Linked DNA regions of Homo sapiens: regions 2, 3, 4, 5, 6 and 7 are each linked to region 1. Evidence: promoter capture Hi-C in 16 types of primary human blood cells and fetal thymus (Javierre and others, 2016). All regions are on one chromosome and are shown on one strand. Each heading gives the region's core, a stretch centred on a gene start or on the middle of the fragment in contact. The rest is flanking DNA. Distances are from core to core; before and after follow the strand shown.

Region 1 (4,147 bases), core at 766-3,265:
GGAGTCCTTATCCAACAACAGTGCACTTGTGTATGTTTTCATCCATGTGACGTAAGTGTATCAGCTAGTTGTTAAAGTGCAAAGACTAACAGTCTGTCTTAACACATATTTCCATACCAAAAAATCACTTTATTTCACAACGTGACAAAGTCCACATTAGGATTTGTTGGCAAATTAAAATTCTTTACTCACAAAATGATAAAAGGAAGGAGACACAGCTCAAAGTTAATGTGTAAGAGTTAACAGAATCAATACAAGTGAATAGCTGTGGAGCCCAGGGGATGCAGGAATCAAGGCAGACAAAGATATCTGTTGAATTAAATTAATGTTAGGTCACTACCCATGGTTGACATCACAGAAGTGGATAAGCATACCAGAGTAAACAAAGGAATCCTTTCTTAAACAAAAAACCCATACAACTTATTTTACTCCCTTATCGAGAAATATTTTCAAAATATAAGCCCATTCCTGGTAGGTTAAGACCAATTCAGATGACTGCATTGCCATTCCAGGGCCAAGAAAGCAACTTTAAAAACATGACCTACGCTATGGTCTAAATGTGTCCCTCAAAATGCACATTTTGAAATCCTAACTCCCGAACTGACGGTTTTAGCAAGTGGCATCTTGGGAAGTGAGGAATGGGATTAAGGTCCTTATAAAATAGGCCCAAGCGAGGGCCTCTGCCTCTCCACCATGCGAGGACAGAGCCAGAAGGTGCTATCCACTAAAGAGAAAGCACCCCTCCCTAGACACACCTTATTCTGTGACATTCCAGCCTTCAGAAATGTGAAGAATAAACTTCTGTGGTTCATAAACTACCCAGTCTAGGATATTTTGTTATGGAAGCCCAAAAGGATCAAGCCATTCCAAAATAGCATTGTTGCCCACACCATCTTTTTGAACCTCACTTAGGGTAACACCATACCCATTCGGAGTTAAGCCCTTCCTAACTCTTAAGTATCAACGTGCTTGGAAACGTGAGCAATCCTGACACGTTTTTTCTTCCTAAAGAACAATACATACTAATAATAGGATCGGCTAATAATACTAGATTCTATGCATGAAGCCTAGTATTTAAAAGCATGCAATCTGGAGCTAGACCGCCTGGGAACAAATCCCAGCTTACTAGACAAGCTGTTTAACCTTTTACTTGGTCTCATTTAACTCATTTGTAAAACGAGGGCAATTTCTGATTTCATAGGGTTGCTACGTGGATTTTAAAAAGCCCCTTGCAATATAGCCTAATATTCAGAACTCAATAACATGAACTGTCTTAAAAGGTTTCCAGAAAAAATCCCCAACAGGTTAGGTCGGCTTATCATTACAACGCTTTCCGGTATAAGGGAGATGAATAGCTATTTAGCACCACACAATTTCTCCTCTGGGCTCGGAACAGCTCTCGGTAGACTACGATCCCTTTCCGACGTGGAAACTTCAGATAAAAACGCTCCCCGAGGTCCGAGGCCAGTACGGGGCGGAGCCAGGACGCGGGCCAGAGTCCCCCGAAGGACGGTGCCTCTCTGGCCCCAAGAAGTACAGCTTTTATTTTGCAGCAATCTGAGCCAACCCGAGAAGATTCTGAAGCTTCCAAAACAGAACCGACGAGAACACTCATAGAATGCCTCTCCACTTCCTAACTGTCGCTTTGAGGAGAGAAAAGTAAGCCACAGCCAGCACCGCAGACTGGAGAAGGCGGAGTCTGCAGTGTGCCTAACGCGAACTAGAGGGACCGAGGCGGGGCGGGGCTGGCGAAGCGCGAGGACCCGGGGCCGAGGTGTGGGGCTGACCATAGAGTGCCGGACGCCGGTGTGAACATACACTATCTGCTCCTGTAGTGCCCAGGCCCCTGCCGGGGAGTCCCCGGAGCTACCATTATCGAGACTCTCATTCTATTGCCCTGCGGCTTTAATCCTTCGAGTGTAGGGGAAAAATTGAACCCTAAAGACAGGCAGCTCCTAGGCACCAGCACAGGAAATAAGCAATGGAGGTGGGGTCCTTTGCTCGCGCCGAAATTCAAAGGAATAAATAGTTCCGGCGCGGGTGTTGAGAGCGGTGTGGCAGGTGTTGTAGCCGCTATGGTGAAGTTCGCTTTGTAGCGGCCCCGGCTAGAGAGTTGTTCTGTTCCCTGCCTTTGTGACCCGGAGGAGCTTTTGGGGTGCGTCAAGCCCCTGGCCTGAGGCAGCGGTGAGGCGTGTGCGTGAGCACGGCCGGTTGGGCCGGGCCAGACTTCCTGGCGGGAGGCGGGAGGCGGGAGGCGGGGCGCGGGGCGCGGGGGCTGTAGGGAGGGGGACCAGTGGCAGAGGGACCTTAGGTGATCCTTAGAAATAAAGGCTAGCTTCTGTTCGACCTTGGAGTAGGGCGAAGAGGTGTAGACAGGCCTGGAGAAGCGAGGTAAAAGCCTGAGTAAAAGCAAGAAGTTGGAGAATATGAGATACATCTCATCTCTAGTAAATACTTAAATGACTTCCCCTCCTCCCGGAGTCAAGCACAATTCGGGGATGCAATGACGGACGTAGGTGAAGACACTGCGGGAACTTACAGACAAGTAATGACCGTCTAATATCAGCTTTAAGTACCATGAAGGAAAAAGAAAGCCGAGTGAAGGATTGTGGAGAGGTGACATAGGGAGGTCAGGGAGGACTCCAGTAAGGTGACATTTGAGCAAAGACGTGAGTGCAGTAGAGAGTAAGCTATGTCAGTATCAGAGAAAAGCACATTATAGGCAAAGATAATGGGATATGTAATAATCCATAGTCTTTGTTTAGGTAGAGTATGATAAAAGTAGAAGGCAAGCCTGGAAAAACGGGTAGAAGAAATAGTTAAGACTTCCCAGTTGAATGGTTTAATTTCCAGATAGTGGCTAACTCTGGTATATTTTTGAGTAGATGAACGATGTCTTTACATCAGACAAGATAGTTTGTCAAGTGGCTGTTTTATTTCTATCACCCTATCGTTGCTGTTTTTGCCTCGTGTTCATTATGATTCCAGGTTTACATTCCACTTAGGTGGTGGTATTTCTGTTTCGTACAGAACTGGTTTGTGGCCTGTTTGATTCCTGTCAGAGGTTTGCTGACCCAAGACAGTATCGAAAATGCATATTAAGTCAATTATTCTAGAGGGATTCAAGTCCTATGCTCAGAGGACCGAAGTCAATGGTTTTGACCCCCTCTTCAATGCTATCACTGGCTTAAATGGTAGTGGGAAATCCAACATATTGGACTCCATCTGCTTTTTGCTGGGCATCTCCAACCTGTCTCAGGTAAAGTGTAAACTTTCTGATTTATTTGAATTTAAGTTGGCAGGAGAATCCTCACTGAACTTTGGAGACGTCCCGATATTCTCTTCATTTGTGTTTTTATACTTTTTGTAAATTACACCTCACTGCAACCTTTTAAGGAAAGTAATATTACTCCTTTAGATGAGAAAATAGAAACTTAGAGATGTTTAGAAGTAACAGTGCCTCAAAACTCAGGCATTCTGACTGTAAAGCAGTCTCATTCCAGAGTATTTTCAACCCTGTGTAATGATGCCTTTTCAAATCCTATTAATGGATTGAATGACTAGTGAAAATCTTTGGGACAGTATTTCCTTATATCTTGCAAAGTAACTTTTTATTAAAAAATGAATAGGAAACAATTCAATTCAGGGTTGAAAAGGTTCTGTAGAGAAAAGTGTCCATTGCAGGTTGTTGCCTATTTTCCTTGTTTTTCTTGCCAGAGGATGCAGCTGCCTAACCTTGTCTACTTAATGGACACTACGTTGGTGGGTTTTCCAACAGCAAGGGACCCATTTTTAGTGCTGCTTTGTACGGTAGGGAGTTTTGTAATTGTTACACTTTTCATATTTTATTTTAGGTTCGGGCTTCTAATTTACAAGATTTAGTTTACAAAAATGGGCAGGCTGGTATTACCAAAGCCTCTGTGTCAATCACTTTTGATAATTCTGACAAAAAGCAAAGTCCTTTAGGATTTGAGGTTCATGATGAAATCACAGTAACAAGGCAGGTGAGTGGCAATTAAACCTTTGGGTATCTTAAGACCTTTTATGTCTGATGTGGTTTTTGGCCCTATGCCTTTGCAAAACGTGCTAGAGAAAGTTCATGAGCAAAATTGGTGCCTTAAATTCTGACTAGATTCCTTAATGTCTT
Region 2 (4,147 bases), core at 998-3,497, 1.6 Mb after region 1:
AAGGTAGTTAATCATATAGTGCATAACTTGTGGCCTTGCATAGCTGGTGGCCTTTTAGCTGTGTCAAAAGAAAAACAAGAATTGGCTAAATACAGGCATTTGTAAAACACCGTTATGCTTAAGAGGCAAGGGAAAGGAGTAACAATAAAGGAATTTGTCTTTCTCTCTCTTTTTTTTTTCCTTAACCTTGCTCTGGAGGGGGCGGGGGTGTCTGGAGCCCATTCCTCTGTCCTTGGCTTTTTGGACAGTGTTATAACTGTTCTTGAATTGAGCTGCTAAGCAGAGGAAAACTTTTTTTTTTTTCTTTTTAACCCTTATTACAGGCTCACTGCAACCTCCACCTCCTGGGTTCAAGCGATTCTCCTGTCTCAGCCTCCCAAGTGGCTGAGATTACAGGCATGCGCCACCACGTCTGGCTAATTTTCTGTATATTTAGTAGAGACGGGGTTTCACAATGTTGGCCAGGCTGTTCTCAAACTTCTGATGTCAAGTGATCTGCCCGTCTCAGCCTCCCAAAGTGCTGAGATTACAGGCGTGAGCCACCATGCCCAGCCTGTCTTATGTATCTTTAATAGAAGCATTTCCAATATGAAAGGGCATTAAGTATTTGGCCCTAGAGTTTATCTTGTGAACCTAACTGATACACGCAGATATACAACATGATAAAATCATGTATGTGACCAACTGAAACTAACCAAAAAGTCCAAATAATTATGGCTCATATTTAATTATTCTTCTCATACTCTGTTGATTTTATGAGATCTTTAAATTTTATAATTTTGAAGTGAAGAAAAAAATGTTACCCGGAATTGCCTTGAATTCTTGCAAATCCAAATTCGTTATCCTTAAGAGGATTGATCCATCAAGTTTAAAATAATCTATAATAAAAATTATAGTTTTTTTAATGTATAAAGCAGAAACTGTTTTCTGTTAAGAACCATATCATTAAATATATAACAGGAACACTTACAGTTCATTTTTATTGTGATAATTTTAAAATGAATATGTAACCAGTTCTAAAAGGGATATTACAAATAATAGTAGCAATGGGAAAAAGTAATCCTGGGAACCTATGGCAATGTTGAGTTGTTACGATATGTCAGTTAAGTTCTTTATATTCATTGTTATATTTAATCAGAGGAGTACTATAAGGTAGCTATTATTATTTCCATTTGACAAATGATAAAATTGAGGCATAGGGAAATGCTGCTATAACTTTCTTGTCTAGTAAGTGGTTGAGCTAGAATCAAAACAAGAAGTTTTTAACTTTAGAGTCTTCACACTTTGTAGCCACTATCTCTCACAGATTTGTTTAACCATCTCTTAAAGTGTAGTCTTCCAGTTGCTATGTGTTTTAAAAAACTTTCCCAAAGACTTTTATTTCTATAACAATATTTTTAAAAGTTATTAGCATTTTGGAAGAATTTTTTGATGTGTATAGATGCTGAAACTATACAAAAAGGAAGATATCCAGAATTTGATACTTTCTGTTATTTCTACTTCTGTTCCTATAATACTAACCTCCTGGATGATTGCAGGAGCTTCCTAAGTGGTCTTGCTGCTTCTTTGATTATCCCTTTGAGTCTATTCGTTATTCTTCATGGAGCAGACAAAATTATTACAGTTGGCCTTCTATACCCATGGGTTTTGCATGCTTGAATTCAACCAGCTGCAGATCAAAAATATTTGGAAAAAAATCCAATAAAAAATAACAATGCAACAATAAAAATAATGCAAATAACAATAATGTGTAACAACTATTTGTATAGTATTTACACTGTATTAGGTATTATAAATAATCTAGAGATGATTTAAAGTGTAGTGGAGGATGTGTGTAGGTTATGTACAAATCCTCTGCTATTTTATATAGGGGCTCTCACATTCACAGATTTTGAAGGAGAATCCTGAAACCAGTCCCCTACAGATACTGAGGGACAACTTAAGTTAGAACATGTCACTCATGTGCTCAGTAATTTCTTATCTTATTAAGAACAATATCCCAAACTTTTACCATGGCCTGTAAAACCCTGCAAAATACTCGCTTTCACTTTCTTTTATGTAACGTCTTACAACTCTATTCTTGCTCAGTTTGCTCTAGTCACATGAGCTTTGCTATTTCTTGAATGTTCCAACGTAAGGTATTCTTCTACCTCAATGCCTTTGTACTTTCTTTCTTCTCTTTGTAATCTTTTTTTCCTCAGAAGTCTCATATTTTGTTTTATCAGAGAGGCCTTCCCTGACTAAAGTAGCACCTCCTCTCCCATGACTATCACATCATCCTTCTTTATTTTTCTTCTTAGAATTATTGCTATCCAACATGTTATCTGTTGATTTTTTTTTTTATGTTGCTCTAACTATACTGGAATAATAGCCCATCAGAGAGTGAGCCATCATGCCTGGCCCCTGGCTAATGTTTAAAATTTTTATATTTGTTGAGATGAGGTCTCACTATGTTTCCCACGTTGGCTATTTTTTTTTTTTTTACTGTCAAAGTTATTTATTCACTATACATAGAACATGTCCCCTATAAAATGTACATGTAAATCACTAAAAAGTAAAATTTGGTGAACATTTTCTCAATTACAGAACATACTACATCAGTTGGGATAATAGCTGTCTACCTTAAAATAATCTAATTATAGCACCCAGTCTCGTTTATATCTAATGCAAAGTTAAATACTTATTTTGGGGGTTATTTCCTAGTATGTGTTTGGTGAGGCTGAGTAAACAATTTAATATAACTCCAGTATATTACAGTCACTGCACAATAAATCAGTTTATTACAGATTAAAACAAATCATTTTTTAATTATTTGTAATAATGGGATCAGACAAACACGGGATAATTTTAAATGGCATATAACCACACAATTACTTATCTTTGATAGTATATTGGGTTCTATAATTATATTAAGATATGAATGGTGTAAAATATTGTAACGAATAATACATCTCAAACAAGACAATTAGGCCATACTGTAATCATTCACTAGATTGTACCCAGTAGACATTTACTGAATAAGGGAATTATCTACTTTTCTCCTCAATTAACCAGTACAATGTTTTGCCCACAGTGTCAGCACTCAATAAATATTTGCTGAACATACTGACTAGGATAGAGGTGAGAAGAGATGGGCCCTCTTAGCTGGATGTCGAATATAATTGGAATTTACCTGGGAAGGAGAGTAGTTAAGGAAGATGTAAACTGCATGTGGTGTACAAGTAAATAAACGCAGATGCCAACAAAGCCAATGATTAAGCAGAAAACACTGACACCAAAATAAACAAAGGCAAGATTTGCCAATAATGGCGAAAATGGAACTTTTATATTGGACCATAACTTTTCCCACCTAAATCAGTTTGAGGCAGACCAACAGAGGCACTGTAAGAGACTACGGCTGTCTTCCTTGATATTCAGACATCCTAGTTTCCAATAATTTATTATGGACCTATTACCCATGAATCAATATACGCTTATTCATATTTAGGGATTAGTTTCCGCAAGTACAAAGTTGAATGTCCTTTTATTTGTCCTAAAATGCTTACTTTCAAACTTGAGGGGACTTCAATTATTCCATGTAGTTTTCGATAACATTCTTTTATCTTTTCAGACCAGAGTCAAAATATTTGTACAGTATTCATACTGCAGCACCTTCCACACACCCCTTTGTCACTTGAACTGCCCTTCTTTGGTTCTTTTTCCACTTTCAGATCTTTCTTGAAGTCTAGTAAGCACAACTGTACTGGATATTCCAGCTACAGTTTGGTCTGTCATTGTCGGAATGGCTTCTGCTACTCTGTGGTCTTCCAGCCAGTCTATTTCTAGGATTATATGATCTTCTATAGTTGTTATGAAAAGACTGACTTCATGATCTCCTTCTTTCATAACTTCGGCTTCTAGGACGTCTGTATCTGTCATAATCATCATAGCGTGAAGAACTGTACATATTCCTCCCTTCCTTGGCTTTCATCTGATTTGGTGTCTTCCGATCCCCCTGGGCAAACTGTATTTCAATCTGCCCTCCACAAATCCACTTTCTGTCCAAATTATATAAAGTGTCTTCAGCATCAGGAACACCCTCAAATTGAACAGAAGCAAATCCTCTCTTGGATGGTGAGTGTGGAAATCAAGTGGAACATACACATCA
Region 3 (4,147 bases), core at 646-3,145, 1.6 Mb after region 1:
TGAAAAGTTCTGCTGTTATTAATAGTAAAAATATTCTCCTTAGCTTTTTTTGGATTGAGGAAGCATTACCAATTTTTGTATGCAAAACCATAAGAATATCCAGCTTCATGGATAAAAAATAGAATACTAGTAGATTTTTACATTTTACAGATTTTATATCTTACATTATTTATAGTTATTTAAGGCACATACAGTGATTGAAACATTCCTTGGACTATACATTCTATCCATACATATACGATTCCACTAATTGACCATTATCTTTAACAATAGTCCTGAAAATATATGTGATGTAGACCCATTCTGTATGAAAGCTAGACAAGTTTGGACTCAACCAAGGAAGTCTGTATTTATTGTCAATTGTCGCATGGAAACAGCTTACGTTGGAATAATTTCGCTTGGTGATTGTTAATCCACCTGCAACTGCATTTTCCCTCTCTGTGTCTACGGACCCTCCTGACCATGCATGCTCTGGTATTTGGACACATTTATAAATCCCTAGGTACGATTCTTTTTATTTGCCCATATATCAAGTACATGTGTTCTCACTGCTAGTGTTTCGGTTTGATCAACCCATCTATACAGATAACCGACACTTTGTGGGTTCCCAGCCACAGCCATGTGCATTTTCTTTCAAACCTCACCCATCCATCTTATTCTTTTTTGTGACAGGGTCTTGCTCTGCTGCCCAGGCTGGTGTGCTGTGGTACGATCATATCTTACTGTAGCCTCAAACTCCTGGGCTCAAGTGATCCTTCCACCTAAGCCTCCCGAGTAGCTGGGACCAGGTGCACCTCACCACTCCTGGCTATTTTTTAAACATTTTGTAGAGATGGGGTCTCACTATGTTGCCCAGGCTGGTCTCAAACTTCTAGCCTCAAGAAATCCTCCCACCTTGGCCTCCCAAAGTGCTGGGATTGTAAGTATCAACTACCACACCTGGCGTCATCCACCCCATTTTCTAATCTCCTTCCTTTGCCTGTCATCTAGTATAACAAGATGCTAATTTATCGTGAAATTCCATTAGATCCCCTAAGACAAAAGATGCTACTTCTACATTCTGAAAAGACAATTAAGCCCTGTCTATGCAGGACTTAATAAAATATAACAGCTGGCCTAGTGAACTTCACTTTCAACAATCCAAGAGGTCAAGAATTTGAAGGGAAATTCATGGAAGGGAATTCAGAGGGCTAGAGGCTTTGCCTTCCTACTCCTCTCCCTGTGAAGAAAGAGGTGCTAACTTCCCCCAAGCCAATTCAGACTCTATTTAAGCAGATAAGAAATTATTTTTTCACGTAACAGGAAGTCTGAGAAGGACAGTTGATAACTTCAATGATCTGCTATTTTCTCTCATGGTCACAACATGGCTGCCCTAGCTCTAGGCAGAAAGACAAGGAGAAGGGCCAATGTCAAGGGCATAGTCCCTTTTATCAGAGAAGCCACATATTTTCATTGATCTATTTTTCTATTTTTTCACCAATATCGTACGTCTTGATTATCACCGTAGCTTTATAGTAAATCTTGAGGCTGGACAGTGTCAGTCCTTCAACTTTGTTTTTCCTTACTTTGTTTTCAGAAGCATGTCAACCTAGGTCCCCTGAAGTTTTATTTGCCAGTATCCTAACACAAGTTCACACCTTGCTGAGAGGCTGAACAAACTATATCTAATGTTTTAACCGGATACACAGAGTTGAATATGTGTGCTGGGTTATTCAACCAGTGGTGTCTGCCTTAACTGTAGAGGTTAGGAGATCTTGCTGTGTGAGCTCCATGGCATCATTGGGGAACCCACAAATAAACCCCATGAATGAGTCTGCATTGACAGCCTGCCATAGAGAAGAATATCAATAGCCAAAAGCAAACCAAGACAAAGAAACCAAAAAACAAAAACTATGACCAACATTTGCCAACTAGAAAGTCTTCTGTTCCTTTTCTCTAATTTCCCTCCTCACTGCCCTAACCCTAGAAGACATAGCAGATGAAAGGAGCAGAAGATGAAGAAAGGCTGGAGGACTCCACCATGCCCATTGCCCCATCAAAGTCTCTGAGACAGGCAGTCCTGAGCAAATGGGAGGAAAGAAGTTCTATATTGCATGTAAGATGGATGTTTTAACTGGACTGGACTTTTTATTTTATTTAAAAAATATCTTAAGTTAGCTGGGAATGGCAGCAGGCACCTATAATACCAGCTATTTGGGAGGCTGAGGCAAGAGAATCACTTGAACCTGGGAGGTGGAGGTTGCAGTGAGCCAAGATCCTACCACTGTACTCCAGCCAGGGCAATAGAGCGATACTCTGTCTTAAAAAAAAGAAAAAGAAAAAGAAAAAGAAATCTTAAATGACAACAAAGCAATGGGATCTGCTGAGATAATGTCAAAGAATGGGATGGGGTTACTAATGATTACTAATTGGTCTTCCTGGCCCTTATCTGGTGGGTGGCCTTTTCATTGCTGTAGGGATGCTGAATCTCTCTGTAAAGGAAAACTTCAAAAGAAGTATTTGGGTTCTGTTAGACAGGAGAAAACCTAGTAGGAGTACATAGGGAAGACTGATTGTAACAGAATAGTAACAAATTTTGGTCTGTCACTGCCCATGGTGACCTCTCTAGCACTTAGTTTCCTACTTTAAAATAAATGGGTTGGCCGAGCGCTGTGGCTCACGCCTGTAATCCTAGTGCTTTGGGAGGCTGAGGCAGGCAGATCACTTGAGGTCAGGAGTTGGAGACCAGCCTGGACAACATGGTGAAACCCCATCTCTACTAAAAATACAAAAATTAGCCGGGCGTGATGGCAGGTGCCTGTAATCCCAGCTGCTCAGGAGGATGGAATCGCTTGAACCTGGGAGGCAGAGGTTACAGTGAGCTGAGATCGCGCCACTGCACTTCAGCCTGGGCAACAGAGCAAGACTCACCCTCAAAAAAAGAAAAATAAATAAATTAAAAAATAAATAAAATAAAATAAACAGGTTAAAGAAAATGATTATACTAGACATCTCTTGGGATGTCTGCCTAGCTCCCTCCTTTCTCTTTATTTTTTTTGAGACAGTGTCTCACTATGTTGCTCAGGGTGGTCTCAAACTCCTGGGCTCAAGCGATCCTCCTGCCTTGGCCTCTCAAAGTCCTGGGAGTACAGGTGTGAACCACTGCACCCAGCCGCTCCTTCCTTTTTCAGGAAATTGCCTCTGATATGTAGGGATGCATCAGATCTGAACCACGTGACCCGGCCTCCCATCAGAACTGATTAACCAGGAGTGTACAGCTGTCCCAGGCCAGGACAGGGTCTTTCTCCTGGCAATATTCAATAGGGGGACCCAGAGGCTAAGAGATGTTGGCACTGAGTATCATCAGTGACTGAGAGAAGTGCACACCCACCTGTTGCTGCTGGCCCCAGAAATGCTCTACTTGCTTTCCTTGGGTCTTGACTGCTCAACTTTTCCTGGCTTTCATGAGATTCCCTAGTAGACTTTCAGCAAATTGCTCATTTTGCTTAAGCTGCACAGAACGGTTTTCTATTACTTGGACTCCATGTTACTATTTTTTTTAAAGGGTCCATTCAACTTCCAAAATTCATTTACTCTGTGATTTAATGGTACCTGTTACTCTTTAACAGAGATGTTGAAGAGCAATATGGTGAACTTAAGTGCTGATGACCACAGACAACTGACAGCTATGGCATTGGTGGGTGACTACAGTTTTAGCAGTCCTTACGCTGAAGAAAGTTAGAGGTATTCCCATAATAACATCAGGTTTTTAATCTGGTAAGTTTGTACTTGTTATACATGGAGAACATTTTTAGTTTACTAGTTTATATTAGTGGTATGAATGACGATTATAGAAAAGGATTTTAGTTTCCAGTGCAATAAATAAGTGAGCCATGTCAGGTTTTCCAAGACACAATATCAAAGGCACTATTATTAGATACATGCTGAGTCTAAAGAGTTGAGTGTATACTTGAATTGGTTGCACTTAAATCTCATGCACTGGCATCTAATTGTACTGATTGAATTCAGTGGGTATTTTGAGGGCAATTGGTGCTCTCTAGCTAATTCTCCTTGATAATCCTGAATATTAAAAAAGGTTGAATTCAAATTACATATACTTTGTCTTAAATGTCACATATTAATACATTATCATTTGATACAGTGTGGC
Region 4 (4,147 bases), core at 637-3,136, 1.5 Mb after region 1:
GTCCAGGTTTTTATGGACGGAAGGGGAAGGAATGTGCTTAGTCTGGGGGCTGTCTTGGCGAATGCGTGACTCGGCTTGGCCCGGGACCAGTCAGGAGGTGAAATGATTCATAGATGCTGCTTAGCTTGGCCCAGGACCTATCAGAAGCTGAAGTGAAGTGTGGCCGAGGACCAATCGGGCTGAGGTGATGATACACAGCAGCTGGACTTACAGTCCTAACAAAGGAAAGTAGAGCGCCCATAGGAACTTACCAGAGCCCACTGTGCCCATGCCTACAAAAGGGGAATAAACTTTTCCTGGGAACCTGCTGACAATACAAAGGACCAAGGCATTTCTATGCCAGGCCTTGTTCCCTTATCTGAGTGAGCTGGAGGTTTGTGCAAGTTTTTATCCAAATGGGCCGTAGGTTTTTCCATCTGTGCAGTCATGGGCATGTCTCCAGGCACAACACCCTGTGCTAGTTCCCTTATTGGTGCCTGCAGCTTTTTTCCCAGGCTGCTTTTTATATTATCTGGGGATAAGGCACTGACTCATGAGCCAGGGGCTCTCCAGGACCCTTCTCTTGTTACCTACCTAAGGTAAGCTAACTAACCGGATCCCCACACTCTTGCTGTGCCTCTCTTCATGGGATGAAAAATTGAGGAGCCAAGGGACTATGCCTACTTGGAATCCATGTTCCTTTACCCACAGAATTCTATACTATGTTATCAGCCAGAACCCCAGGATTCCTTGCCTCATCAGCCTGAAGCTTGCTTCCAGGATATGTGCAGGCCTTTTGTCCAAATCCATCCTGAAAAAAGACTACTACAGATGTATATACCCCTATGGCTGGCAGTTTGTGGGAAGTACAGATGAAGCTTGGATGTGCAGACTGAGTTGTCCACATGCATGCATGATAGGCCCCTGTGGCAGGCTTAAGCTAGAAGTAAAAAGAGACCCAGGGGATCAGGGAAGGGCAGGCCAACCTAGTATCACTTTCTAGTACACTTCTGAAGAATCTGCGAATCGCATATTTGAACCTAGATTTCTGTTCCTTGAGAATACATGTTAAAGTAGAAGAGTATAACATTTTATTTGTTGGTTAACGCTCAGCTATTTAGACACTGAAAATATGTCAGGGTTGGCTTTCATTTGTATTCTTGGCCCAGACCCTACAAATGTTAGGAGTCGGCCAGGATCCTTACATGTGTGCACAGCTGAGTGGTTTATAGAACATGAATATTTACTTGTAAGAGAGGCTGTTTTTATGCATCCTTGTACCCACTCTTTCAGCTGTATTTGCTATCCAGATTAAAGCATACTGACTTGACGTTTGCCATGAGCTGAGGGCTCACATTTGACCTTTCAGTATGCTTGATAAGTAACACTGCCACCAGTTTAGTTGTATATTTACCTTCAGTTATGTTTGTTCCCAAACCTGCTTATGTAGGTGGTAGTCACTGTTGTAGTCATGTAAGTATGTAAACCAATTATATAAATATATAAACCAAAATAAATATGAAATGAGTATGAAAAGGTACTTATAAGAAAAGTACGAGAACCATTAGAGATGAAGAGTTTAAAAAGTTGCAAAGTTAGTTGTGGCCAAAGTAATTGTGAGTGATAGGGGAAGATTTTTAAAAATAAATTCCAGGACTCCAAATTTATATTCCTTCACTTGTATCTTTAAGTTCCTGGTCCATTTTACAGAAACAGAAACTACAAATGATGGATGATGCATTATGTCTATGGTTTTGTAAGAAAAACAGTGAGATACTCTAATCAGCTGGTCCATGCTTAAAATGAACTTAGTTCAAAACAGAAGATTGGCCATTGTAACCCTCTACTGAAACTGCCTTTTTGAGAAGGTTTATTCAGAACTAGATTTGTTATACACTTGGAAAGTATTTATTTCTAAGAACCTGATAATTTTTCCCTTTTCCTGTTACTTTTAATTATAATTTCCAAATATACAGAAAAGTAGAAAGCCAGTGCTTTGTGCTCATCACCTAATCAATTGTTAACATTTTGCCATGTTTGTGCTATCTATTTTGTTTTAAAATGTCACCTGTAAGTATGCTATATGCATCCATGATGGCTTTTAAAAACAGCCACATTCTGTTAACATTCTTAGCAAAATTAACAGTAATTCTGTACTATTATCTAATGGATCAGTCCATACTAAAATTTCAGTTGTCTCAGAAGTATCTTTTTACAGTTATCTTGTTCAAATCAAGATCTAGACAGGGTCCACACATTGTACTCCGTTACATCTCTTAAATATTTGATTTTACAATAGTTCCCTCTGCTTTTAAATGCCATTTATGAAAAAAACTGAGGAATTTGTCTGGTAGAATGTCCCGTTTTCTGAATTTAGTTGCTTCTCTATATCCTGTATTAGATCTAGAGTTTGAGTAAATGCAGGTTCAATTTTTAGGCAAGAATCCTTCACAGGTGTGGCTGTGTACTTTCTATCACATCAGGAAGTACATAATATATGCTTGTCCCAAATTTAGTGAGATTAAGATCAGTGGGTTTAGGTGATGCCAGTCTATTATAAAGTTCCCCATCAACCTTTCACCTTAATTTTATCATCTATTGATGTTGCCCTTTCGATTATTTTATTAGGAGTTACAAAATCGTGATTGTTTTATCATCCTCCATTTATTAGCTGGAACTCTTATAAGTACTTTGGTTACACTAAAATTCAATTCATACAAGAAAGGCAGGATAAATGCTTGATGTTTTCCCTTATCAAGTTTTAGAATATTTAATCTTCAACTTGGCAATCTTCAATCACGACTGAATTTTATTTTTTAAGGAGTCATTATAAACTCAAGAATTTTTATATTTGATGTGTTTCAATCAATAGCAAGTATGTGATGCTCAAGTTTTCCCATGTCCCATCACGTTAGCACCTGTGTTAATGATGCCATTAAGCTTTGATAACTTACTTCCTCTTGGTGTAACCTTCCACTTTTTTTTATTAACCTACTGAGTACCTACCCGTTCTGAGTGCATTGGATGAGAGGACTTCAACAGTAAGCTTGTATGTGCATAGGAAATTTCTGGAAGGAAAAACAAAAAGTTGGTAAATGTCATAACCTGTAGGAAGTGAGGAAGATTTTTTCTTCCTTTTCTTTCTGTACTGATAGAATTAAAAACAAAGCTTAGAAAACAAATATATGATGGGAGTATTTTCCGTTTTGTAGAAATAAATTATAATTACAGTAACTGGTTTAGTGAATTATGGTTTTCAAAAATTTATAAGAAGATTAATATCTGAGCCTTAACAACCACCTTTTGGATTACACCGTTAAAAGAACCAAAGTGAGAGGATCGCTTGAGGCCAAGAGTTCGAGACCAGCCTGGGCAAGATGGTGAGGACGCCCTCCCCCCCACCCCCGCCACACCCCGCCCTGCTAGCCCCCAACGTCTCTACAAAAAAAGAAAAGAAAAAAGTTAATCAGGTACAAAATTGTATCCAGCCTTAAACTGGAGGGCAACAGGTCGCTAAATCTTGAATGTCATAAAGGCACCTCAACTTCATGAGGAATAGTGAACGCAGCTGCTATTTTCCACTCTATCCCCTAGCTCTACTAATTGTATCCAAACCAAACTTCAGGGAGTTATGCTGAATCCCTCTAGCAAAGCACACGCACTAAAAAAACCACTCGTTTATCAGAAGTTCACATTTAACGGGCTTGGAAAACGGCTCAGCTGCTGCCTCCAGTTCATCTTCCGCTGTCGAAAGCGTTTCAGAACTTAAACTCTCAGATTGCCTCAGTGCGCTGCTGTAGTTGTCAATTAGGCAAGAGATAAAAAAGGGCTTTGGCTAAGTGGCTAGATTATAAAAGCGAGGAATCGCCAGGGCTCAGTGAACTTCTGGCGGTGAGGATGCGACAAGAGTCACAGGAAAGCCGAGGCTGGGGCTGGACCGTGGGAACGTCCCAGCAGGAACCAAGCCAGCCTCCGCCGCTCAGCACTTGACGGCGGCTTTTGCGGCGGTTGCTGTGAGTGCCGTAAAGCGGAGCGGCTGCAGCCTGCTGTTGAGTGAGGTAAGGTACGGGAGGCTCAGGTCGGTACCCGGGGATGGGTGGGCGCCTTCAGACAGGTACCGCTGGCGACTCGGGTGCCCTTACCGGGCATCCTCCAGCATTCTGGGCAC
Region 5 (4,147 bases), core at 1,055-3,554, 1.4 Mb after region 1:
TGTAGTTTTCTTTTGGAGTAATATCTTTGTCAGTTTTGGTATTAGGGTAATGCTGGCCTCATAGAAAGAGTTAGGAAGTATTCTCTCTATTTTTCTCTTCTGCAAGAGATTGTAGAGAGTTAGTGTACTTTTGTCCTGAAAAGTATGGTAGAATTCACCAGTGAACACTTTTGTGCCTGGTGCTTTCTGTTTTGGAAAGTTATTAGTATCGATTCAATTTTTAAAATAGATAGAGGCCTATTCAGATTGTCTGTTTTCCTTGTGGGTTTTGGCAGATTGTGTCTGTCATAGAATTGGTCCTTTTGGGTTATCAAATTTGTGGACATAGAGTTATTCACAGAATTCCTTGATTAGCTTTTTAATGTCCATGGGATCTTTGTTGATGCCCCCTCTTTCATTTTTGATACTAGTTATTTGATACTAGTTATTTATTGATTCCATTGATCTGTCAAAGAACCAGGTTTTGCTTTCAGGATTTTTTTCCATTGATTTCCCTCTTTTCAGTTTCATTGATTTCTGTTCTTGTTTTTTGTTTGTTTGTTTTTAGAGATAGAGTCTTGCTCAGTTGCCCAGTCTGGAATGTAGTTATATAATCATAGCTCACTGCAGCCTTGAACTCCTGGGCTCAAGGGATCTTCCTGCCACAGCCTTCTCAGTAGTTAGGACTACAGGCATGTGCTACCATGCCCAGCTAATTTAAATCTTTTTTTGTAGAGATGGGGTCTTACTGTGTTGCCTAGACTGGTCTCAAACCCCTGGCCTCAAGTGATCTTCCCACCTCAGCCTTCTAAAGCACTGGGACTACAGGTGTGACTACCACACCCAACCTGATTTTTGTTCTAATTTTCATTATTTCTTTTCTGCTTGCTTTGGCTTTATTATTATTATTATTATTATTATTATTATTATTGTTTTTAGTTTACCAAGGCGAAAGCTTAAATTACTTGTTTTAGATCTTCTTTTCTAATATAATCATTTGTCAGTGGTGGGGATACATTCTAAGAAATGTGATGTTTGGCAATTTTGTCATTGTGCAAACATCATAGAGTGTATTTACACAAACCAAGATGGTATAGTCTCCTACACATCTAGGCTATATTATATAGCAGATTGTTCCTAGGCTACAAACCTGTACAGCATGTTACTGTACTGAATACTGTAAGCAGTTGTAACACAATGATAATAATTTGTGTATCTAAACATATCTAAACTTAGAAAAAAATACAGTCAAAATATGGTATTGTAATTTTATGGGACCACTTTTGTATATGTGGTCTGTCATTGACCAAAATGTTGTTATATGGCTTATGGCTCATGACCATATGTGCATTCAGTGTTATAATTTCCCTCTAAGCACTATTTTCGTTGCATTCAACAAATTTTGATAAGTTGTGTTTTCATTTTCATTTAGTTCAAAATATTTTAAAATTTCTCTTGAGATTTATTCTTTGACTATGTGTTGTTTAGAAGTGTGGTTTTTATATTTTTAGTAGAGATGGGGTTTCGCCATGTTGGCCAAGCTGGTCTTGAACTCCTCATCTCAAGTGATCCGCCCCCCTCCCAAAGTGCAAAGATTACAGGCATGAGCCACCGCGCCCATGCTAGAAGTGGGTTGTTTAATCTCAAAGTATTTTGGGACTTTGCAGCTATATATCTTTTTCTGTTAAGTGATTTCTAATTTAATCATTGCATGATTTCTATGCTTTTGAATTTGTTAATGTGTGTTTTACAGCCCAGAATGTAGTCTTTGTCTTGGCAAATGTTCTATAGGAGCTTGAGAAGGATGTATATTCTGCCATTGTTGGTTGAAGTAGTCTGTAGATATCAATTACATGCAGTTGATTGATGGAGTTGTTGAGTTCAACCATGTACTTAGTGATTTTCTGCCTCTCTCCCATCACTTGTATCATTGTTGTCATTTATTTCACTTATGCAGCAGTATGTGTAAGCACAGATACACCACACACATTCAAATAAATAGTTGCCCTTATTGTTTTGAATTAACTGTTACTGGTTAGATCAGTCAAGAATAAGAAAAATAAGTTTTTATTTTACCTTCACTTATCCTTCTCCATTGCTCTTTGTTTCTTTGTCTTTAAAGAACTTTTTAAAAACATTTCTTCATAGCATGTCTATTGGCAACAGATTTCCTCAATTTTTATTTGTCTGAGAGAGTTTTTATTTCTCCTTCACTACTGAAGGATAATTTCAAGGTATACAGAATTGCTCCTCTATAGGTAAGGTCCCCTCCTCCGCCCCCACCTGGCTTCTTTCAAGTGTTTTCCTTGTCTTTGATTTTCTGTGGTCTGAATATATGCCTAGATACAGTTTTTGTTTATGTGTGTATGGCAGGGAGCATTTATTTTGGTTGATGTTCCCTGAGCATCCTAGATCTGTAGTTTGGTGTCTGATATTAGTTTGGGATTTTCTCAGTCATTATTGTTTCAAATATATCTTCTGTTCCTTTCTGTCTTCTTCTTCTGTAATTTCCATTATACATATTTACTCCTTTCGTACTTCCACAGTAAATTTTGGATATTCTGTTCTGTGGGGTTTCTTCCAATCTTTTTTGTCTTTGCTGTTTCATCTTGCAGGTTTCTATTGAGAGATCTTCAAACTCAAAAGATTCTTTCCAGTCAGCTATTAAGTCCATTAAATTATTCTTAATTTATGGTACAGTGCTTTTTATCTTTAGCCTTTCTTTGCGGTTTTTTCTTAGAATTTCTAGCGCTCCACTTGTATTGCCCATCTGTTCTTTTATGCTGTCTACTTTCTCCATTTTATGCTCTCTGCTTTCTCCATGAGAGCCCTCAGAATATTATAGCTGTTTTTAATTATTGGTCTGATAATTCCAGCATTTCTGCCATATCTGAGTCTTGTAATTTTTTCTTGATGACCAGACATGTATTGGGTTAAAGAAACTGATGTAAACTGGCCTTTATTAATGTGGTAGTAAGGTGTGTGGGAGGGGCAGCATTCTGTAGCACCATAATTAGGTCTCAGTCTTTTGGTGAGCCTGTGCCTCTGGACCGTGAACTTTGCAAGGGACTTCTCAGTTTTCCCCACTCCTTATTCCTGGATTTTTCGGTGGAACAGGATGGCTGGAGTGGGCTGGGGTTGGTCTGGGTATTTCCCTTTGCCCACATGGAGTAGCTCATTGGAGTTGGATATTTCCCTTTCCCCAGGTCACTTAGTCTCTGTTAAAACCCCAACAGATTAGACTATGATTAAATAGTTTCTCTTAAGGGAACAGAAACTCTGATGTATTTCAAAATACTTCCTTTTCTCCTCCCCCTGCTGTGGAAGCATAAGGGGATTTTTCTCTGTTAGTTATTCATGGTGAGAACCTGGTAAGCTCCTGGAGGTAAAACTCACAAATGTGTGGGGACACTCCTATGACTGGGTCTCCTTGGAGCTGGACTCTCAGACATTCTGCTGTATTCCTTAAGTAAGTACAATTTCAATTAAAATTTAAATAAAAATTTTGCCAAGGGATTATAATCTCAAGCATTTGAGATAGTTTATTTCCCTTTCATTTCCAAATGGAGTAGTTTTATGGAGAAAACTCAGCTTAATAATATCAGAAAGGCTTTTCTAATAGCCACAACTGACTAACTATGACAAGATCAATTTTAGGAAATAGTAACTCTTCCCATCACTAAAATAATTCGGTAAGAAGCTTGACAATAACTTGAAGCCAGTGTTGTAAAGGGAATCCATTCATCAGAAGATATTGACCAGTGCTTCTCAAACTTTAAAGTGCATGCAAATCAACTGCAGATTCTGATTCAAGAGTCTTAGTGTTGGACTTGAAGTAACTTAGGCTTATTTTTGCACACATTCAAGGTGAGAAGCACTGCCTTATTTATAAAAGCTCAGCAATATAACACAATAAAATTGTTTTATGCGGGATTTTTTTTTTTGCTATCATAGGATCCCTCCAGAGTATGGTAGTTATATGATAGTTATAGCAGTCTATGATAGTATATGAGTCCTCTTCTTTTCTATTTGAAATTTTTGAAGTTTTTTTCAGATTGTGTCCTCTTGCTCTGGCTTTCATGAATTCTTTAAGGTGACACTGTTGCTTATTTCTAAAGTTCCCATCGTTTACAGTTTTTTATTGTTTGAGACAGGGTATTTCTCTATC
Region 6 (4,147 bases), core at 1,019-3,518, 1.4 Mb after region 1:
CAGAAAAGGGCAGGAAAAACAAGACCGGGCATGGTGGCTCATGCCTATATTCCCAGCACTTTGGGAGGCCAAGGTGGGAGGACTGCTTGAGGCCAGGAGTTCAAGACCATCCTGACCAACACAGCAAGACCATGTCTCTGTTAAAAAAAAATCAGAATTAGGTTTCTATGGTTGGGAAGAGATAGCTAATATTTTTTGAATGCTCACTACATGCCAGACACTGTGCTCAAAATTTAATATGAATTATATGATTTACCACTCAACAACCCTTATAGGTGCTACTTTTATGATCTCTATTTCACAGCTAAAGAAACTGAGGCTTAGAGAGCCTTGGAGTCTTCCCAGGCTGGGTGGCAAATGCTAAGACTCAGGCCAGATATAGTAGCAGGGAGCAACGGGCAAAGATTTTGGGCTTCAACAAAGGGCAGCATTTGACTAGTGATTATACTCCAGAAAAAACAGGTATAACAGGGAAAGGGGGAGTTGTGGTGAGAATAGGTCTTTTAAGGCCCCAAAGATCCAGAAGGAAAAAGAGCTGTGCAAGGGTAAAACAGAAGGACATTATGAGTAAGAGAGTAATTATTAGTAACAGCTACTACTTGTTAAATAATACTAGCCAGCATTTGACCTACATAATCCCCTTTAATCCTCACAGCAACCCTAAAAGGGAATTACTACTATTCTGATCGGTATGTTACAGACGAGGAAATTGAGGTTTAGCAAGGTAAGTGACTCACTGAAGGCTACGTTGCTGGTAAGCAGCAGCATCTGGATTTAAATTCACACTGCTGACTCCATGCTGATGGCCCTATACTGACTCCCAAAGGGATAGACTGCTGGCAACACTGAAAGGAAGGAAATTTCTCTCCTAAGAGATGGGGGAATTTCAGAATATACGAGGTAGCCCAGGGCTGCAGGCAATACCTGGCACCACTCAGAGAGGATACAGAACCTGGTTCTGGGAGAGACAGTTTTGCCAGACTCTCTACATCAGCCTTTCTATGAGGCTATCCTAACTTGAGGTTTCCTCAGAAAGAGGTTCCTGGAGGCCCAGAGACCTCAAGAGGATAAATGTCTATGACTAGATAGGCTTTTTAAGAACCAGAAACCTAGGTTTTGAACTGATATTTTTATGCCTCTGTAGTCCTCTCCCCGACCCCTTTTTTTGTAAACAATTTGCTTTCTCGCAGTTCAATGGCTCTCAAGCTTAGAGTTCATCAGAATCACCTAGAGGAAATGCTAAAACACAGATTTTTGGATTCTACTCCAAGAGTTCCTGATTCAGTAGATCCAGGGATAAGGCTGGACAATTTGTACTTCATAGAAGTTATGAGGTGATGTGGATTCAGCTGGTCCAGGGATCACATTTAAGAAAAATGCTTTATTTTATTTGTAAAACTACTTTTGAAAATTTCTAAATGGATTTGGCTGTGAAAAAATAAGTACAGAAAAGGCAAAGGACTTGCCTATAGGCCAGAGGTACTGGGAGGGATTGGGTGGGAGACTTAGAGCCCAGCTCGGTACGTGGCTGTGATGGGAGAACTTGTACAAACTGGGGAAGACAGAAGTCACAGTCAGAAGGAACTAGCTGTTTCCCAGATGGGAACGAGGGGAAGCAAAAGGCCCAGGATGAGCTGGGCAGGAGAGCCAGACTGGCCAGAGACAGAGATCAGGTGAGGGCAGAAGCCAAATGGGGTAGAGATGTTGTCAAAAGCTGCAGTCTGCTGGCTGGGCTACAGGGAAAGAACTTGGGAAGCTGGAGGCAAGGAGCCAGGAGTGAGCTCCTGGGGTGTGGACTGTGACAGAGTCTGGTGATCACATTTCAGCTGCAACTCACTGTCCCCAAAAGCCTCTTTCTTCTTTCTCTGGTGGTGCCTGTCAGTCATAAAGTGCCTAGGAATTGCCCTCAGACAGTAATGAGGTTAAGTCCTTGCAGCAAGAGAAGTGGGGACATCGCCAAGCCCTGTCTCCTCTGCTTAGTCGTGGGTCCCATAGTGGCAAGCAGGGGCAGAGCCAGGAAGCACGCAGTCTGGTGAGTAGACTTTAGATGTTCTCCAATCGCCAGGCTATTTCTCCCTCATGGGAAACTGACTCAACTGCAGTACACAGTGTGAAGGAACGACCTTTGTGGCTGCAGCAGTGGGCTAATGGCTTGGCGCCTGGCTGCACTTGTTATTCCTCACGGAGTTGGGAAAGGTTGAATAAGAGGCTCTCTTCCCTTGGTACTAAGAGATGGGCATCTCTTTGAAGGACTGCATGCCACTACTCCTTTCAGCTGGCACACATAGGCCCACCCTGGACCCTGGCTCTCTAAGCACTACCCACCCAGCCTTAGCCAAGCTCTTCTTTTCCCTTTTGTAACTTTCATTTCATTTCTTGTACATCTCTGTCCAGTTAAAAAAGGATGTATTAAGTGCATACTATGTGGCAGACTCTGAGCTGGGGATACAGATATGGGGTAAAAGAAATTCAGCCCTCAAAAAAAAAATCACAGTACAGTCAGGGGGATCCATGTGGAGATGTAATGACAACATTGTAGAATAAATGCTGTTTCTCAAACACAGAGCTCCTTCTCTCCACAAGGCCTTTGTATTTGTTGTTCCTACTTTCTAGAATGTTCTTCCCTAGATCCTTGTACAATTCCTCTTCTCACTTTATACTCAGGTCATTTCCAAGAGAGATCTTCCCTGACATTTCTATGAAAAATTAAACCCTCCCAATTCTCTGAATCCATTTGCCTTATTTATTTATTTAGGAGCTGGGGTCTCACCCTGTTGCCCAGGCTGGAGTGCAGTGGTGTGATCTAGGCTCACTGCAACCTCTGCCTCCAGGACTCAAGTGATCCTCCCGCTTCAGCCTCCTGATTGGCTCTGGCTACAGGCTTGCAGCACCACGTCTGGCTAATTTTTTTTTTTTTAATTTCTGTAGAGATGGGGTTTTGCCATGTTGCCCAGGCTGGTCTCGAACTCCTGGACTCAAGTGATCCACTCATTGGGCCTCCCAAAGTGTTGGGATTACAGGTGTGAGCCACCATGCCTGGCCTAAGTTTTAATTTTAGCACCTATAACCGTCTAGCACGTTAACTTTTTTTTTTTTTTTGGTTGGTCTTCTATACTAGATTGTAAGCTCTGTGAGAGAAACAGGGCCTTGCCCACTACTGAATTTTGTTTGTAGAACTGGTACAGAATAGGTACTCAATATGTATTTCCCTTTTATTCATTCATCATAAATGACTGTCTAATTGAACTTTTGTGAGCCTCTCCAGAGTCATCCAAATGGAAGATGAGGCCTGTCTGCTTGAGGAAGAACTTTCTCAAGCCTACTAAATTCCAAGCTTTCTAAAATCTTCATTGATGCCTCAGGCCACACCGAGCAGGTTCTAACTCCCCACTAAGAATGACTATAATGGGCCTGGCACATGCCCTGTAACCCACACCTGTAATCCTAGCAATTTGGGAGGCTGAGGTGGGCGGACTGCCTGAGCTTAGGAGTTCGAGACCATCCTAAGCAACATGGCTAGAACCAGTCTCCGCTAAAAGTACAAAAAATTAGCCAGGTGTGGTGGGGGCGCCTGTAATCCCAGCTACTCATGAGGCTGAGGCACGAGAATTCCTGGAACCCGGGAGGCAGAGGTTGCAGTGAGCCAAGATGGCACCACTGCACTCCAGCCTCGGTGACAGACCGAGACTCCATCTCCAAAAAAAAAAAAAAAAAAAAAAAAAGAGAATGACTATAATTTATTCACTACTAATTATGTACCATACGTTATTTAATCCTCACAATCCTCTGCAAAGTCCGCATTATTTCTCTCATTTTACAGATGAAACAAGCTCAGGCAGACTGACTTGCTCAAAATCATACAGGTAGCGAGGTGCCGGGGAGGATGGGTGGGTCCCCGGGAAAAACTGTGCCAGGCCCCAAAGCTCATATTAATCCCACACCCACGTTTCCGCCACTCTCATCCCTATATCCCTCCTCCCACGTTTCCACCACATCCCCTAAAGGTCTTTTCCCACGTTTTCGCTACATCCCCACCCCAGCCCTTTTCCTCCCTTTGGACCGCTGGGTCCGCTCAAGCCTGGCTGCCCCTCGAAGGATAGTGTGGGGAGGGGCTTCAGATGCGTGCTGGGTGGAGGGTGGGCTAATC
Region 7 (4,147 bases), core at 911-3,410, 1.3 Mb after region 1:
TCCCTGTTCCATATGCTCGCAATCTCAGCTATTTGGAAGCTACCAGGAATGCTTTCTAATTATCATTTGCAACTAGAACTGTAATCAGAAAGAAATTTTGTATTTTTGTATAACTTGATTGTGTGCCATTTTATATAACAGGTCCTGTTTTACAAATAAATTTTGTTTTACTAACATTGTGTTTAGAAATTATAATCTATGTGTAACCATGTCATTTGAGTTGCAAATTAATTGCCAGGCTGTTTTCCTTAAGTAAATTCATGTGCCGTGTAGAAATATGCAGATATGCATTACACAGGCACACACAGAGAGATATTTAATATGTGGAATATCACTCTTTCATGAGCTTTATTCCTTGATTAATTTGATAAAGCCTCACAGAGGATTTTAAGCAATATTTAAATGTGTTGAGGTTATGTTTGGATATTCCTGCTGCCTCTTTTCATTCATTTCAAGTCATTCTTCAGCTAGCTATGGGCTGCCTTATTGCTATTCGCTCACTGCTTCCATCTTCTGCCCAAGTGAGAAGAATAGATGAAGAACAGAAATTTCTCTGTGAAATGTGGATACCCGAATAATTTCATAAATCATTGATTCTATGTGGTGGTTTTTGTCTTCTTCTGTGGTGAATCTTCAAAACTGTATTCAGGACTCATATTTCTAGAGTTTTAATTGGGGTCCTCTATTGTCAATTGTAGTAGTGACCAGAGTATCGTGGTTTTTGCCATCAGATAATTAAGGCTCTGGTGCATAATTTAGACTTTCTAAGCTCCTGCCTGAAGAATAAGGTCTTCCATAATATGGAAGAGAAAAGTTATATTTCAGTGTAAATCCAAGAGACCCATCTTCTATGAGAGGCTTACCAGTGCATTAGTAATAAAACATTAGCAATTTAGCTAGAGCACTGAGATTGTATAATCCTTGCATGGATGAGCAGAGCTCAAAGCCAGTTGTTCCTTTAAAGCATTTAATGCAATGGCTAATGTTTAGGATTAAAGTTTTTATTTTATCCTATAAGATAATTAAGTCCTAAGTCACTACAACTTAAGTAGCTTAACTGTATGTTGGTACCCAAACTTTTTCTATAATGGTTAAGGAGGAGGCACTTACTGAGTTTATTTTAAAGTTATGCTAGAAATGTTTTTCTTTTGTAGAGATGCTCTCTCTCTCTCTCTCTTTTTTTTTTTTTTTTTTTTTTTTTTTCCGTGAGGGCATTAGGCTGCTGATTGTAAGTTATTTCCAATACCACTGATCTTGGTATCTGCCAAGGGCTTCCTTGCCTTCCCTGGGCAGTTTTAGGATTTCACCCTAGTAGGGGGTATGAGGCACTGACCCCTTTATTCTGGACCCAAACTGCTTTAGAGCAGAGTTAATACCTCTCCCTCCCTCTTCAAAACAGCTACAGGAACTGCAGGCACCACATATGTGTGAGGCCACATCACTGCCCCTGAGGCTTCAACTATTTCCACCATGCACTATTACTAGCTACTAACAGCCATTTTAAGAGATCTCCTAGCCTGCAAGGTAGAATTCTGGGATCAGTTCCAAAACCAGAACTGCCAGTAATGGTGACTTGAATATTTTATTTGATTTTTGGTCAGTAACCTTGTCATTTAAATTGGACTTTCCAATAGCCTTAACATGGCCTCTGAGAAGTTTCCTCCAGAAAGGTCTTTAAGCTTTCGCTTTTCAATAAGTAAGTTCTTTACTGCTTTTCTACTGCTACTTTAAAAAAAAAACAACAACAACAAATAAAACTCTCAGAGTCTGGAGGCTTATCAGTGCACCTGCCACAGTTAATTTCTGTATTCTTTTCATACATTCCATCTGACACATACGAGTGCACTATAATGGCTTGCCTAGAACTGGTAAGAAGTGGTCTGTGAATGTATATTGAAAAAATGTGGGTTCATAAGTAAAAGCGTAACGCAGATATTTGTGTATTCTGTATTCACAGCGTAGGCTGCCTTTTGCTTTAAATGCATATTCATGTATCTTTGTGTGCTAAGAATGCATGTTAGCCCTTTTGAAAAGTAGGCACTATTCATACACAGTAGCTTCTTGGAATTAACTCATCTTTGTTAACTTAGTGGCACATAGTCCAAATTTTTAAAAAGCAAGACCCTTGAATATGCCAAGAGAAAATCTAAAGCTAGCAAACTTAAAAAACAAAACAAAAATTACACGTCGTGTACAGTTATGAATTTAGAATAGCACACTTTTTCCATTCAGATTTCATACATTTGAGCCAAATTCTTATACTCCATGTTTTAATTTTAAAAGGATAATTTTAATCCAAGATTTAAATCTTTGAAAATATCTTTCTTATAGAAAACTTTAATGCAGTTTTTAAACTTACTGATTTCTGTGGAAAACCTTTCTTTTCTATAGAAATACTGTAGTGCCCTTTCTTCCCATCTTGATTTTGTACATGTAAAGACAAATGATGATTCAGTTTCAATATTGCATGAACAATTGCCACTTTGTAAATTATATGGACAGAATGTGTTCTAAGGAAATTCGTTAGTAAATTTGTGAAAAACATGTGAGATTGTTCGAGACCTATTAGGCTATTCTTCAGTTTTGATGCTCAGTTTTACAACTTAAATGATTTTCTCCAGGACACGGAGCTCAGAATAATAAAGCTTTTATTAATGGTCTAGTGAAGATCTAGTTGAACATGGAAACATTGTAATTTACAAATGTCTCAGAAATTTCTCACTTTTATTTGCTAAGACCTGAATTTAATATTTGATATTCAAAAACAAGTTATTTTGAAGAGACAATGGGTCTCTTTGAGCTTAAGAAAGCTATGGACTATCTTTCCTTCAAATGCACATCACATGTCTGTGAACACTCAAAATGCTCATAGAATTTCAGGGCCCTCAGACGGCCAGCTTCCACCCCTGTACCCCCTCAGGGGCTAATGAACCCAAGTCAAAAGGCTGCTCTAAAGTTGTTCTGATAATGTGTTTTGAAATGAGGAAGTGATTAGGCCTCCACTAGAGATACTTTTGAGATGATGCTTACCACCTTCTGACCTGGAATCATTTTTATAACTTAAAGACTTTATGTAATTTAGTAGCAGGTTAGGGAATAGAAACCACACTAATCTGAAGGAATAACAAGATGATCAACACTGAATCTTCATGACAGTAAGATTTTCTTTCCTTGGAGGTATGAGGGTGTGTATGTGTGTGTGTGTGTGTGTGTGTTTGTGTGTGTGTGTGTGTGTCCTGGCGGTTATTTGGGGGCAAGGTACCAGATTATTTGCAGTGAGCCAAAAAAAAAAAAATATCCAAGAAGAAATAAATAGGGAATCCTTGTAATTAATCCATCTACCAAAACACTTGATTCTTTTTATTGTAGCTCAGCTATGACATTATGACATTATGTGGCTTAGTGTTATCAGTATACTACTGTCTTAAAATATATTTGTCAACATGTCCAGTTCCAACAACAGTTGAAGATGATGATAAATTAGCAAACTCAAGGGTAGTCCATAGTTGGCAAAAAATAAATTTGGTAGAAAGTTGGAGGAGCAGATGCTGAAGGTAGAAATGCAAAAGATGTTTTTTCTTCCTGCATAAATCACGGAGGTGTGTTCTGTTTTAGTGTTTTCCAGTCACCCACTAGAGCAGCTTCAGATTCCTCTGCCAATAGAACTCCACCCCCAGTCCCTTACCTACTCTATCTTCTTTAGGGAAGCATGTGGATTTCTTCACATCTGCACCTTACTATTAGGTAAGGGTGCTGCATCTACATGGAAGGCTCCCTGGGCCCTTGAAAAAGCAGGCAGAAACTCATCAAGGGGTTTGAAGTTCTTGTGAAATTTGATCCCAGTGGCTCATGACTTATAGTCAGGCATCAAACCATTTCCTACTTTTTCAGGCTGAAGAAAGTGGAAATATAACTGGCTGGTGAAGAAAGGAGAAAAGTCAGCCCCCTACCCCACCCCACACTCCTAGAAAAGTTTGGGGGTTTTTTTTGTTTGTTTTTGGTGTTTTTTTGAGACGGAGTCTCGCTCTATCGCCAGCTTAGAGTGCAGTGGCTCAATCTTAGCTCACTGCAACCTCCACCTCCCAGGTTCAAGTGATTCTCCTGCATCAGCCTCCTGAGTAGCTGGGACCACAGGCATGTGCCACCA

What was found. Contacts are between HindIII fragments. The CHiCAGO score rates a contact against its expected background, and 5 or more counts as called.
Region 2: a contact is called between a fragment that was not itself captured here and the fragment with the promoter of SMC2 in region 1, in 1 of 17 cell types (non-activated CD4 T cells). The highest score is 5.1, in non-activated CD4 T cells.
Region 3: a contact is called between a fragment that was not itself captured here and the fragment with the promoter of SMC2 in region 1, in 3 of 17 cell types (total B cells, non-activated CD4 T cells and activated CD4 T cells). The highest score is 6.7, in total B cells.
Region 4: a fragment that was not itself captured here is called in contact with the fragment with the promoter of SMC2 in region 1 in 5 of 17 cell types (non-activated CD4 T cells, total CD4 T cells, fetal thymus and 2 more); the score reaches 7.7 in non-activated CD4 T cells.
Region 5: a contact is called between a fragment that was not itself captured here and the fragment with the promoter of SMC2 in region 1, in 1 of 17 cell types (total B cells). The highest score is 5.2, in total B cells.
Region 6: a fragment that was not itself captured here is called in contact with the fragment with the promoter of SMC2 in region 1 in 2 of 17 cell types (fetal thymus and non-activated CD4 T cells); the score reaches 10.0 in fetal thymus.
Region 7: a contact is called between a fragment that was not itself captured here and the fragment with the promoter of SMC2 in region 1, in 1 of 17 cell types (total B cells). The highest score is 5.2, in total B cells.

Annotation. Positions count from the first base shown.
Region 1 is chr9:104,092,294-104,096,440 of GRCh38, forward strand. It overlaps SMC2 (structural maintenance of chromosomes 2), which reads left to right and starts at 2,016. Exons shown (of 25, transcript NM_006444.3): 1 at 2,016-2,184; 2 at 3,031-3,259; 3 at 3,855-4,004. The coding sequence starts at 3,092. SMC2-DT (SMC2 divergent transcript) reads right to left here and starts at 181. Exons shown (of 3, transcript NR_121580.1): 1 at 1-181. RefSeq lists enhancers at 1,299-1,968, 1,431-1,750, 1,969-2,636. The HindIII fragment of the contact is 5,032 bases long and covers 1,583-4,147 here.
Region 2 is chr9:105,706,524-105,710,670 of GRCh38, forward strand. All of the region lies in intron 2 of TMEM38B (transmembrane protein 38B), which reads left to right. It overlaps LOC107987107 (a long non-coding RNA gene), which reads right to left. Exons shown (of 4, transcript XR_001746868.2): 2 at 1,522-1,669; 3 at 804-878. It also overlaps the pseudogene LOC100421293. Among named protein-coding and RNA genes, the nearest start is that of TMEM38B, 14 kb to the left of the region's middle. The HindIII fragment of the contact is 7,200 bases long and covers 1-4,147 here.
Region 3 is chr9:105,686,368-105,690,514 of GRCh38, forward strand. No RefSeq gene overlaps it. Among named protein-coding and RNA genes, the nearest start is that of TMEM38B, 6.1 kb to the right of the region's middle. The HindIII fragment of the contact is 8,166 bases long and covers 1-4,147 here.
Region 4 is chr9:105,554,129-105,558,275 of GRCh38, forward strand. It overlaps FKTN-AS1 (FKTN antisense RNA 1), which reads right to left. Exons shown (of 3, transcript NR_184141.1): 1 at 3,642-4,147; 2 at 2,986-3,047; 3 at 1-215. It overlaps FKTN (fukutin), which reads left to right and starts at 4,003. Exons shown (of 11, transcript NM_001079802.2): 1 at 4,003-4,037. RefSeq lists enhancers at 3,864-3,913, 4,074-4,147. The HindIII fragment of the contact is 2,062 bases long and covers 856-2,917 here.
Region 5 is chr9:105,497,316-105,501,462 of GRCh38, forward strand. The region is part of intron 7 of FSD1L (fibronectin type III and SPRY domain containing 1 like); the gene reads left to right. Among named protein-coding and RNA genes, the nearest start is that of FSD1L, 51 kb to the left of the region's middle. RefSeq lists enhancers at 3,222-3,341, 3,352-3,401. The HindIII fragment of the contact is 2,745 bases long and covers 933-3,677 here.
Region 6 is chr9:105,443,628-105,447,774 of GRCh38, forward strand. It overlaps a transcript of FSD1L not described here. Among named protein-coding and RNA genes, the nearest start is that of FSD1L, 2.3 kb to the right of the region's middle. The HindIII fragment of the contact is 2,128 bases long and covers 1,205-3,332 here.
Region 7 is chr9:105,391,228-105,395,374 of GRCh38, forward strand. SLC44A1 (solute carrier family 44 member 1) reads left to right here. Exons shown (of 16, transcript NM_080546.5): 16 at 1-4,147. Among named protein-coding and RNA genes, the nearest start is that of FSD1L, 55 kb to the right of the region's middle. The HindIII fragment of the contact is 966 bases long and covers 1,678-2,643 here.